Regions from separate parts of the Homo sapiens genome. Here region 2 is linked to region 1. The links are contacts of gene promoters, found by promoter capture Hi-C in blood cells and fetal thymus (Javierre and others, 2016). All regions are on one chromosome and are shown on one strand. The core of a region is centred on a gene start or on the middle of the fragment in contact, and the rest is flanking DNA. Distances in the headings are between cores, read along the strand shown. Region 1 holds the start of TPP2 (tripeptidyl peptidase 2). Region 2 holds the start of TGDS (TDP-glucose 4,6-dehydratase).

Region 1 (6,317 bases), core at 3,322-5,821:
GCTCCAGCATCCCTTCGCTTCCATCACGGGCTGGGAGCCGCCCACGGGAGGTGCGGCCTCGCTGCAAGGCAGAGGAAGATTTCAAAGCCCAGCGGCTGGCACATGTAGGATGCTTATGCAATCTCTAGAGTCTTGGAAAATTAAATTTTAAAATATTCTCTAAACGATAGGCTGCAGCAATAGTTGCAAGGAAGGCGATTCATAGAAAGCTATTGCCTTCCACAGCACCTGTGCCTTGGATTGCAGCCTCAAATGGGGCAGGTGACAGGAAAAACATCTGACTCAGCACTTCCTGCTTTGAACAATGCTGGGTGAGAGAAGTTGCTGTGCGTCCAGCCTATTATTAATACTTTACCCTCCATAAGATGACCAACGCCTAGGCCTACTGACCTTGTTTTTGCCTCTCCTCCTCCTCCTCATTTTTTTTTGTTTTATTATTATATATTATTACAGATTATCCATGTTTCTCTACTTATACTCTCTACTTGTTTCCAATATCCAATGAACTGTCACACAAACTGTCTTAGCATTAAAAATTCCCCCCAGTGATAATGTCATTAAATCAAAGGAGGAAAAAATGTAAGCACTTATAATATGTACAACATTTGGCTTGAAGACAAACAGTAAATGACTGTATTGAGTTAAAGTGATTTCAGGGGTTATATAAAATAGTGGGTTTCAAACTGGTACATGGATAGTTTCGATGAAATCAATTTCCAGATGCCTGAAGTCAACCACTTTTTTCTAAGCTTATCTGCCTGGCAGCGTGCCTGTGGCGGAAAGACATGATTCTCTTTTGCACCTATTTCAGTGCTGGGTCTCCCACCTTTTAGGGAAAAGGAACACATCCCGAATCTTACTATTATGCACCACCTGCAGGTGTAATAGCCTCTGGGGCATCAAATAACGGGACAATTTGAAATACTATCACTAAAACTTTATTTAATATCAAAGTTCAATAACCAATCCTATCCATCTTTTTTTAAAATCAAGAACAATTTTTGTTAAGACCACAATTAGCAAAAAAAAGTTACAGCATTTTTGAAACATTCCACAATCTATTATGAGGAACAAGGGCTAGGGAACAAACACCAAAGCATAACAGCATATGCTCTGCTGTGTGTTATGTTAAACCACTTTTCATTTGTCTCATTAAATCCATCTTTTCTACAATTTAAGCAAAGGTTATAGAGCAAAAGATGACATTTGTCATATGAGTGATTCTTAAAATGGGAGCTTCAACGTACGTCTGAATTTTGTTCACATTACTTTCTGGGCATATTATGTAATACTTATATATCCTGGTTTCGCTTCTTAAGAATTGATGATTCAATTTTACAAGAGACACAGACATACAAATCTTATCCTTTTAACTAGTCCTGTCATTAACAGAAGCATGACTTATTTATACCAAGCATCTTTTTAAGAGCTCTATTTTCAATAAAAATTTTTTTGTCCTGTAATTTTTAATCAAAGCTTAAGACTTACTCATGTTGTTGTAATCAACTTTGTAATAACTGAAAGATAACCCAAAAGAATAAGTTTAACATTTTTCTTCCAGGAAAATTTTTAAAATTAATATATTTTTATTGCAGATGATGATACATTATCAATATGCCTTTCCATTATAAATGCAAATTACAATGAGAAAAAATTCCATATAGAATGGAAATAAAGTTTCCAGAAGAAATAGTGATATAAAATGTCTGCTTTTAAGTGTTCAGATATTTTATAAATAGTTGATGGTAGCTATCAGAGTTACACTCAACTGGGTATATTTACATGAGAAACGTGAAAGTTTCATTAAATAATGACGATATTTATACTATGCCAGAAATTACATCCTTTATAATTTTTAAAATTTATGATAGGCCGGGCGCAGTGATTCACGCTTGTAATGCCAGCACTTTGGGGGGCCGAGGCGGGTGGATCACCTGAGGTCGGGAGTTCGAGACCAGTCTGACATCAACATGGAGAAACCCCGTATCTATTTAAAAAAATACAAACATTAGCTGGGTGTGGTGGCACATGCCTGTAATCCCAGCTACTTGGGAGGCTGAGGCAGGAGAATCACTTGAACCCCGGGAGGTGGAGGTTGCAGTGAGCCGAGATCCCGCCATTGCACTCCAGCCTGGGCAAGAAGAGCAAAACTCCATCTCAAAAAAAAAAAAAAAAATTGTGACAAATTTAGACTTCATTTTACAGCTGTACAAAGGGATACATAACTTTTTTAAAAACATGTTTATGGGATATGTAAGCAAAAAAAGAAAAATCTGGCCGGGTGCAGTGGCTGATGCCTGTAATCTGAGCACCTTGGGAGGCCGAGGTGGGTGGATCCCCTAAGGTCAGGAGTTCAAGACCAGCCTGGCCAACATGGCGAAACCCCGTCTCTACTAAAAATACAAAAACTAGCCAGGTGTGGTGGCATGCACCTGTAATCCCAGCTACTCGGGAGGCTGAGGCAGGAGAACTGCTTGAACCCGGGAGGCGGAGGTTACAGTTACCCGAGATTGTGACATTGCACTCCAGCCTGGGCCACAGAGTGAGACTCTGTGTCAAAAAAGAAAAAGAAAAGGAAAGGAAAAGAAAAATCTAAAGAACATTGTTACGGCAGTCTAATAAAAAGTCTGCCACCTAGGTTTCATAATAAACTGTTCATTCCCCATTTATTCATTGGGTGATACTCTGGCAAAGTCATGCACATGGTGTGGTAGAACATACTGGGGAGAGATTGTGAGAAGACAAATCCCGTGTTTTCATCAACCTGTTTTGTAATCCATGACAGTCAGTTAACTTTGTTTCTTCATCTATAAAATGAAGTGATTGGACTATGGTTCACTTGAAACTGGGAGCCATTCTGTTCTATCACTATAAGCTCTATACTGAATGTCTTCTGCGAGTTTGTTATTCTGTTTTCGTCTGTGTTAATTTGAAATTCTTTTCTAGAGGTAATGTAAACAGTTGGGAATAAGAAGAAAAACATTCAACTTTTCTTTTTCCTCTGCACTAAAGAGAACATGCTTGTGTAAGACTTATGGACTGAATAAATGATCAAGGAATCAGCTGAAACCATTGCACAGCCATAAGAATAATTTTTGAGACTTAATGGAGGATCTCTGAAATTCTGTGGGTTGGAAACCGCATGCATAAGGCTTTCCTTTATACCAGGTATTCTTAACTTGGTGTCCATAGACAGAATCCAAGGGGTTCAAAAACTTCCGTAGAAAAAAGATACAAACCTCTTAATTTTTTTCACATCAAGTATGAATGTAGGCAAAAACCAGGGTAGTTATGCTGTTATGTCACCAATAAAAATCAGTTCATCGTAGTGCAGTTTTCACCGCTATCTCCAAATAATTATATTCTTCACTATTTTGAAGTTATGGTAGTTTATTAGCCTTGGCCCTAGCTCCTGTTATTTAATGCAAAAGAAGTACACCTGTAACTATACACACACACGTAAAGCTCCTGCTATATAACAAAATTGCCTTTAGTATTTTTGATAACTGCATTTAAACATAATTTATTTCCTGGGTAATCCTATCTATTTCATTGTATGCATTTTAAAACACTGCTTGAGAAATAGGCCTCACCAGATTGCCAAAGGGGTCTTCGGCACAATAAAAGGCTAAGATTACCCTGGCATGAGCATAGACATAAAGATCATTAGAGGACCACTATGCAGCTTGCAGCAACTGACGGCAGGCACTGTGAATCTGGAAAACTGAAAATTATGGCTCTATAATTGAGTGGACAGCCGTAAGGAGCAATCAGAAACTTCAGTGTAAGAGGAAAAAAAAAGATGTTTTTCAGAAATCCCGGAAGCTAAGGATCAGCAGAGGATAGGAGGGGCCCATTTCAGTCTCGTGCTTTGTTACTGGCTACAAAGGCGACGGAATGACCAACAACCCACTTCCTGTTGACTGAAACTATTGCCTGTCTCCACCCTATTGCTCCCCCTCACCACCTCACCCCCATCAAAGGGGCATAACAACACAGGGGAACCCAAAGTCTACACCCCTTAACCTACGACCTTCCAAAATCATGTCCGGAGCTTTCGCCGACACCGCAGACTCCTTAGCGGCTAAGCGTGAGTGCGCCGGCTCCCTTGCCTCGGGTCAGCAGCACCCCGGGGCTGGGGCTCCTGCAGCAGCCGCACCAAAAAGTTTCATCCACAACCTTAAGTTTGGAAACTATCGTTTGCCAAGCGAAGGGTTCCCATTATTCCTGGCTGGCGGTCCATCTCCTTGCCCGTCTCTCGGGGAGTGATTCGGTCCGGGACACCAGGACTCTGCTTGGAGGCCTGCTGTTGCCTAAAAACCCCAAGCGCGGGCCTCTTCAAGGCCCCAGGTTCGAGATCCGAACCCTCCAGTAATGTCCTCAGACTCCTCCCCCTTCACTGCAGCCCGGGCAATACTCGGGCCTAGCTCCTGAGAGCGGCGCCGTTGGCTTACGTAGCAGCACGTGATTGGCCACCGCTCCCTGGCAGGCCGGGATTGGTGGAAGACGGGCCGACCCCGCCCCTCGCCCCCGCCTCCGGCCCGAGGCCGCACGGGTGTCCTCGCGCTGCTAGTCCGCGCGCAGCCTGGCAGTTTGCCGCTTCCTCGTCCTCCATCCTGCGTCCATGGCCACCGCTGCGACTGAGGAGCCCTTCCCTTTTCACGGTCTCCTGCCGAAGAAGGAGACCGGAGCCGCCTCCTTCCTCTGCCGCTACCCGGAGTATGATGGGCGGGGGGTGCTCATCGCAGTCCTGGACACGGGGGTCGACCCGGGGGCTCCGGGCATGCAGGTGAGGCGGCCCCCGAGGGCCCGGGCGCGGGGGCGCGGGCGGCCGGGGACGCGGGTGGGGACACAGTCTCGGAGCCCGGCAGGCCAAAGCCCCGCTCTGCGGCCGAGTCCGGGCCGGGGTGGGCAGCACCGGGGTGGGCAGAGGTCAGAGCCAGGCGCGGGAGGGACGGGCGCCCGCCAAGGGGACTCAACGGCGCACAGTGCCAGGGTCGCTGGGCGGGCGAGGGCCCGGACCCCAGGTTGGGCCGTGGTCCCCCCAGCTCAACAAAAGCAGCGTGCCCGGCGCGGCTGCCTGGGGAAGCCTGGGTCCCCCTTTGGCCCCAGGGACTCCCCTTCCTTCTCGCTTCGGCGCTGCCAGGCCGGACCCCCCAGGCTCCTTCCCTCCACGCCGCCTTCCTCTGCCTACCCCTCGTGCCTCGGACACCGGTCCCAGCCTGACGTTTTTAAAGAGAATTTTACAGCTTTTATCATTGGGGTGGGGTGGAGACACCAGATAGGCAACTGACATGTGAGAACTTAATGTTTAGGGATCGGGAGATTTGGTTTGGGGAAGAATAGTTTGTCTTTAAGCACGAAAGCTGGGTTTCCAGAAGATAACCCAGTCCTCTTCCGGAATTGTTTCCTGTGGTAGTTTTGTGTATTCTATTTTTAAACGGTCTTCTGCAGCGTGTTTGCTTAGGGTCATTGAATCTTGTGGCTTAGTCTTCGTTTACATAAGGAGAATTCAGTTAGGTTTGGTTTTGGCGAGCTTCTCAGACCTTATGAAAATATGCGACTTTTTTTTTTTTAAACCTGAAAACATACGACGGTTTTTAAAAATTACTTAGTTTTTTGCCTTAGGCAACTTTAAAATCTGTAGATTCAAGGTATCATACCAGAAGGTAGTTTTTTTGAAAGTATGTTGTCTCTCGTTAAAAGCATTCTGTTTAAAGTCTTTAAAGTTTAACTTTTGTACTTTTAACCCTTTACTGAAATCCAGTAATAAAATTTCACCGTTATTCAAGATCCATCTCCCAGCATCCCTGACTAATCCTACTGTATGCTGATCTCTCGTTGATCAGCCCCTGGCTATCTTATCCTCCTTTCTACACTAAACACTCATCCTCCTCCCCACAATGTCCCTTCCCTTCTGGATCCTTTATCGTGCTTTCTGATTATTGAGGTAGCATTTTGGAAGTAACGAGGGGGAGTCTGGCCGAATCTGCTTAGAAACCCCTGGGAATCTTGATTCCTGGTGTGTGTTCTTCAGCACCACTCTGGAGTACAGCACATCTTTTGTGAATCAGAAGAGGATCAGGTACTGAATTCCCTCCCGGTAACTGGAGTTATATAGTTGTCGTTGTATTAATAACTTAAAGACTTAGAACAATGACAGCTATCAACTCATTTGGGGCTTTATTACAAAGTAATAATGCTTTTCATTCAGCTGTGGAGTGTGTTTACTTTTTATAGGATGAGTGGGAGGAAAACAGCTGGGATAAGTGGTTCACCGGTTCTTTTGTCAGGATAATAAGAGGGTCAGAAAAGTT
Region 2 (6,337 bases), core at 891-3,390, 8.0 Mb before region 1:
TTAATTTTTTCTAAGATAACAGAAAACATAACTACACTAAATATACACACATGCAAACTTTTTACCAAACTTCTCAACAGTATCTATAAACAAAAGTTTTACATTCCATTTAGACTATGCAGAAGAGAGAATGTACTGGTTCTGGGTATAGGGAAAAAAGTCAGTTTAACCAAACGATGCCATCCATACAGGTACAAGTATCGAGTAAAGTGGAACAATAAATGGGAGCTAGTCAGCACAACTGTACATGCCTATAGCATGCCTTTTCAGGAACTGCAGATATAAGTATGTAAAAATGAAATTACTATGAGTATAGTCAGTTGTCTATATTTAATAGTAACTTCTGCAATTGCTATTTCTTGGTATAAGATTTTGGTAATGTTAAACCAGAATCCTCAGGAGGCTTCTAGACTAAACCCAGGATTCCCAGGCTAATAACAGCTGAAACCATTCTGAGTTGGATATCCACAGTGGGTCCTGGGCTTCAGAGGACCCTAAAGGGGAATCACAGGCATATCTCAGTGAAATGATCTACCAGATTTACCATGTATACTTAAAATGTTGGGCTCCCAGGAGAGGGGAGCCCTTGACCAAATTATGAACTTGAAGTTTGTATTCGGCATTCCTTTCACAGCACTTTCTAAGTCGCACCCTTCCTGGACCCGCACTCTCACACAAGTATCACCCTTTCATGTCCATAGTCCTCTTTCTCATTAAGTGAAACTTGCCAGCCTGATGCTCTCCCCCAAATGACTTGTCGGATTAGAAGGGGTGATTTAATGTGCAAATGGCCATAAACAGGAATCCTCACATTCCCACTTCTTCCACTAGCCACTGAGTTCCTTGAGGGGAGGATAGGAGAGTTTCCTGTTTATTACTCTTGCATTCATCCATTCCACAATTACTAAAGACTTATATAGAATGGGCCAGGCATTCTTCCAGGTGCTGAATGAACAGTAGTCTCTGTCCTTACCGAGTTTGCATTTTAGAGTGGGGATACAAGCAATAAACAAGCAGACACAAATCCGCAATATAATTTCAGGTAGAGGTTAAGTGTGCTAGTTGGGAGAGGGGCTATTTTAGATATGGTGGTCAGGTAAGAACTCTCTGAGGTGCTATCTGAATAAAAACCAGAATTGAGTGGTGCAAACAGCCTAAGGAAAGGGGAAGCAAGTGCAAAGGCCTCAAGACAGAAGTGTGTATCTTGGTGTGTTCCAAGAACTAAGAGGGGAAGCATGGCAGGTACAGAAAAGCAGATCAGGTTGCAAAAGTAGGGCTTGGGCACTTGAGTTTTCTAGATATGGTAGAGTTTGGGCTTTATTCTTAAGTGTGGCAGGAACCACTGAAGTAAAATCCTGCTTCTACCATGATCTGATTGACTTAAGAAACACTGACTTGTATGTGAGCAACAGGCTTTAAAGGAACATGAGTGGACGCAGTTATGGCCAACCAAGAGGCTACAGCAGCAGTCGAGGCAAAAGATGACAGTAAACATGGGCTAGGGTGGAAACGGGAAACTGGTGAGAAGTGGTCGCCGTAAGGATATACTTTGGAAGTAGAGAGGACTTGCTGCTCGAATGTGGGTCTGAGGAAGAAAAGGGTGTCAACAGTGGATTTGTAAAAGTTTGCTGATTACATAGATGTCCTATTATAGTCCTTAAATCGTTTTGGGGGTGCCTATATGTACAGGGCCCATCGTGGGGTGTGGGTGCTCTAGGCTGGAGGTGGGAAGCAGTCGGTGAGCAGCTTAGGGTAACTTGCACGCACTCAAGGAGTGACATGGTGAGCACCTCCGGCCACAGAAGGGCGGAGAGTAACGCAGCTTTGGAAGAGGCGTTTTAAAGAAGTCAGTTTCAAAGGAACCACTTCTTTGCAGGCCAGAGAGAGAAAAGCTGGTCCAGGTCGTGCATTAGGACCCTCCCCATATCAGAATAAGGACCCCTCAAAGCTGGACCCAAATTACCTAGGGCAAGCAGAGCTGCGGGAAAAGGTAGGGGTTTCTGGGGAGCCACTGCTTGGCTAGCGGCGCCATTACCTACATGAAACCAGCACCGCCGGTCACCAGGACCCGCTTCGCAAAGCCGCCGGGAAGACCCCACGGTTCCTCCCAACACGCCGCCGACATCTCCCAGCTCAGCAGTGCCTAGTACCGTAAAGAGTATGGTCTGAAAAGCGCAGGGAAGTTCCGCCGCGACCTTTTGCGACGCGCCTCGCTCGCGGGACACGTTAACAGAGCAGCCAGAGGCAGCTTCCGGAGACTGCTCTGTGGCCAGTTTCTGCCCGCCCACTAGCGGGCTGGGCGGGGCCGCGCTCACCACGCGCAGGCGCTGCTCCTTTCCGCCCTTGCCTGGTCCGCCAGGTGCAATTGGGGTCGCCCGGATGGTAGGGGTATGGAACGTTTTTCCCGGAAATGCCACCACTATGGATCAGATTTATGAATGAGTACCTTTTTTCATTCTTGTACTACAGCCATCTCTAGAGGTTACCTATCAGTTGAGCTGAGAACGGGGAGTTGTTGCAGATGGAGATGGGAGGTTGCAATTTAAAAATGATTTTTTTTTTTAGTGGGGCGGGGACAGGGTCTCCCTCTGTTACCCAGGCTGGAGTGCAGTGGTGCGATCACGGCTCACTGCAGCGTCGACCAATGGGGCTCAAGCAATCCTCCCACCTCAGCCTCCTGAGTAGCTAGGAATACAGTCGTGCGCCACCACGCCCGCCTAATTTTTGGTAGAGATGGGTTTCGCCCTGTTGTCCAGGCTGGTCTCGAACTCCTGGGATCTAGCCAACCTCCCGCCTCAGCCTCCCAAGGTCCTGGGATTACAGGCGTGAGCACCGTGCCTGGCCTGCAAAATGATCTTTTGCTGTTGTTAATATTATTTCAGGCCGGGCGCCGTGGCTTACGCCTGTAATCCCAGGACTTTGGGAGGCCGAGGTGGGCGGATCACCTGAGGTCAGGATTCGAGACCAGCTTGGCCAACATGGTGAAACCCTGTCTCTACTAAAAATACAAAAATTAGCCGGGCGTGGTGGCGGGCGCCTGTAATCCCAGCTACTTGGGAGGCCGAGGCAGGAGAATTGCTTGAACCCGGAAGGCAGAGGTTGCAGTGAGCCGAGACCGCACCATCGCACTCCAGCCTGGGCAACAACAGCAAAACTCCGTCTCAAAAAATAATAATATTATTATTACAGACAGCGCAGAAGGCTTGCAATCATGATAAAGATATTCCCTAGGTCCTACGCTGATGTCTTATTCTATTCTCTCCTTTGCTCACTCCGCCCCAGCCTCCCCACCCTCCTTGCTCTTCATTCAATGTGCCAGGCATGCTACTTCCCCGGGACCTTGATTGTCTTTCCCCAGATGTCTGCCTAGTTTTTACCCTTACTTCCGTTTTCAGCTTGAATGGCATCCTATTGACCACCACAATTAAAATAGCGAGCTCTGCCCAACCCTGCCGAATCATCTTATCCTTCTTTATTTTTCTTCCTAGCACTCAACATTTACATTGATGTCACTGCCCTCTGTTTAGTGTTCCATGAGGTCAGGGGCTTTGTTTTGTTTTCTGCTGTAATCGCATGTCCTTAGAGACTTGGCACAGAATAAATGACCATTAAATATTGTCGAATAGATAAATATCTTTTTTTCCCCACCATAATGTTTGGCAAAGCTGAAAACGAATGGAAACATCCAGTACAGGTGTATATGTGGAAGAATCATACCACAACCTTTTTACAAGGCAAAGTGGTAAAACATATGAAAATTTCAAATGTTCATATTCTATGACCCCCTCAAATTCCATGATGTATAATATAGATAATTGTTCATTGCTGTATTGCTTGCAATAATGAAACACTGGAAATAATCTAAATGTGTATAATGTCTTCTAACTTTTAAAATGCAGTAAACTGCTATATAGCCTTTAAAAAGAATATACCAACATGGAATGAAGACCAAAATATATTGCAGTCGATACGTACAGTTTTTTTCTGACCAGACTCCTCCCCCCACTGTCCTTTATGATCTCCCCAAGTTGACCCAGGCAGGCCACAGAATGAAATCTGGCTGACTCTAGGCCAACTGAAGCCTCTTCTTGGGATTTAGAATTCGACTAAGGTGCTAGTATAGTCTGGTTACTCTACTTGAACTCTGAGGTCCTACAAAGCTGGAACTTTTTGGTGGCCATGTTCTTTCAAAGTGAGGAGCCAGAAAGCCTGTCTTCACAGTGAGAAAAACAAAGTTGATTGAGAAGAAAGAAAAGATAGGAAAGGCCTAACATTCAAGGCCTGTGTTATGATTTCTCTTCAGGACCAGTTTTATTCCTGTCCTTGGTTTACAAATACCACATATATTTGTGGTATTTGTAATACCACATATATTTGTGGTATTTGTGGCTTACTTGAAAGGATTGACCCTAAACTCTTAAAATAAGTTACCTTTAGGGATGAGATATGGGCAGGGAAAGGAGGAAATGGGGAGTTTAATTTTTACTTTATATACTTTTGTTTTTTTGAGACAGTCTCGCTCTGTTGCCCAGCCTGGAGTGCAGTGCCACAATCTTGACTCACTGCAACCTCTGCTTCCCAGGTTCAAGCGATTCTCCCATCTCAGCCTCCAAGTAGCTGGGATTACAGGCGCATGCTACCACACCTGGCTAGTTTTTGTATTTTTAGTAGAGATGAGTTTTCACCATGTTGGCCAGGCTGGTCTTGAACTCCTGACCTCAGGTGATCCACCCACCTCACTTCCCAAAGTGCTGGGATTACAGACGTGAGCCACTGCGCCCAGCCCACTTTATATACTTTTGACTGTGAATTTTTTTCTGAGACACATGGATTACTTGCATAATAAAGAATCCTTGCAGTTTTTTTTTTTTTTTTTTTTTTTTTTTTTGAGACGGAGTCTCGCTCTGTCGCCCAGGCCGGACTGCGGACTGCAGTGGCGCAATCTCGGCTCACTGCAAGCTCCGCTTCCCGGGTTCACGCCATTCTCCTGCCTCAGCCTCCCCAGTAGCTGGGACTACAGGCGCCCGCCACCGCGCCCGGCTAATTTTTTGTATTTTTAGTAGAGACGGGGTTTCACCTTGTTAGCCAGGATGGTCTCGATCTCCTGACCTCATGATCCACCCGCCTTGGCCTCCCAAAGTGCTGGGATTACAGGCGTGAGCCACCGCGCCCGGCCGCAGTTTTTTTTTAAAAAATCCGAAAATATTAATACTTCCAGCATATTCCTGGTCAGCCAGAAATACTGAAAATGCTGTGTATATGGTAGGAGGTGGTTCCTCAATATTTTTTTTTTCTAAATGATGAGGTCTGTTATGAGAACTTCCTTATATGTTATAGAAGCTTGTTGTTAAATGAAAATAATTTATATACATTTATTCATGAAATAATTTTGAGCTCCTACTTTTGTTACCAGTGGAGGGTCTTGACTGCAAGTTGTCCAGTTTCTTGGCATTTTGAACAAAGAATTGGACAAAATGCACAGCAAAGCAAGGCAAGAATGAAGCAACAAAAGAATGAAGCAACGAAAGAACGAAAGCAGGGATTTATTGAAAATGAAAGTACATGGCCGGGCGTGATGGCTCACACCTGTAATCCCAGCACTTTGGGAGGCCAAGGTGGGTGGATCTCTTGAGGTCAGGAGTTCGAGACCAGCCTGGTCGACATAGTGAAACCCCGTCTCTGCTAAAAATCCAAAATTAGCCAGGTGTGGTGGTGTGCACCTGTAATTCCAGCTGGAAGCTGAGGCAGGAGAATCACTTGAACCTGGGAGGCGGAGGTTGCAGTGAGCCGAGATTGTGCCACTGCACTCCAGCCTGAGTGACAGAGTGATACTCTGTCTCAAAAAAAGAAAATGCAACTACACAGCGCAGAAGGGCCTGGACACATAATCATCTTGGGTCCAAATACTCCCTAGAAGTTTCCCATTGGCCACTTGGAGCTCACCTCATATAAATGAAGTGGTGGCCCCCAATAGGTCTGATTCTTGGGGAAAGCAATGAATCAGAGGCTGAAGTGGAGTTACAAAGGTCACACTCCTGTGCAAACATCTGATTGGTTGCAAAAAGCAATGTTACAGAGTTACAAAGTTGCACTTCTATGCAAACGAAGACTCAGCTGGCAATCAGTCTGACTGGGTAGGGACAGCCAATTTCTTATCTGCCTCACAGAAAAGGTGGGGATTTGCAAAGGGCATAGCCTCTGGTCCTTTTGTTACTTAGGGTGGAAAGTTAGGGTTTTCCTTTAATAGTTCTAGAAAGTCGGTGTAAAAACGCCTTAGGTTCCCTCACCCCAGGCCCTATTCTCCTGCCTCACTTTCATTAAGACAGGTATAGCCAGC

What was found. Contacts are between HindIII fragments. The CHiCAGO score rates a contact against its expected background, and 5 or more counts as called.
Region 2: a contact is called between the fragment with the promoter of TGDS here and the fragment with the promoter of TPP2 in region 1, in 1 of 17 cell types (total CD4 T cells). The highest score is 6.2, in total CD4 T cells.

The regions. Positions count from the first base shown.
Region 1 is chr13:102,592,415-102,598,731 of GRCh38, forward strand. TPP2 (tripeptidyl peptidase 2) reads left to right here and starts at 4,572. Exons shown (of 30, transcript NM_001330588.2): 1 at 4,572-4,789. The coding sequence starts at 4,625. LOC107984588 (a long non-coding RNA gene) reads right to left here and starts at 4,528. Exons shown (of 2, transcript XR_001749984.3): 1 at 4,034-4,528; 2 at 923-1,987. RefSeq lists enhancers at 1-34, 1-154, 35-582, 4,006-4,165, 4,216-4,275 and silencers at 4,346-4,635, 4,796-5,085. The HindIII fragment of the contact is 7,622 bases long and covers 1,475-6,317 here.
Region 2 is chr13:94,594,012-94,600,348 of GRCh38, forward strand. TGDS (TDP-glucose 4,6-dehydratase) reads right to left here and starts at 2,141. Exons shown (of 12, transcript NM_014305.4): 1 at 2,040-2,141. The coding sequence starts at 2,125. RefSeq lists an enhancer at 2,005-2,314. The HindIII fragment of the contact is 5,991 bases long and covers 1-5,338 here.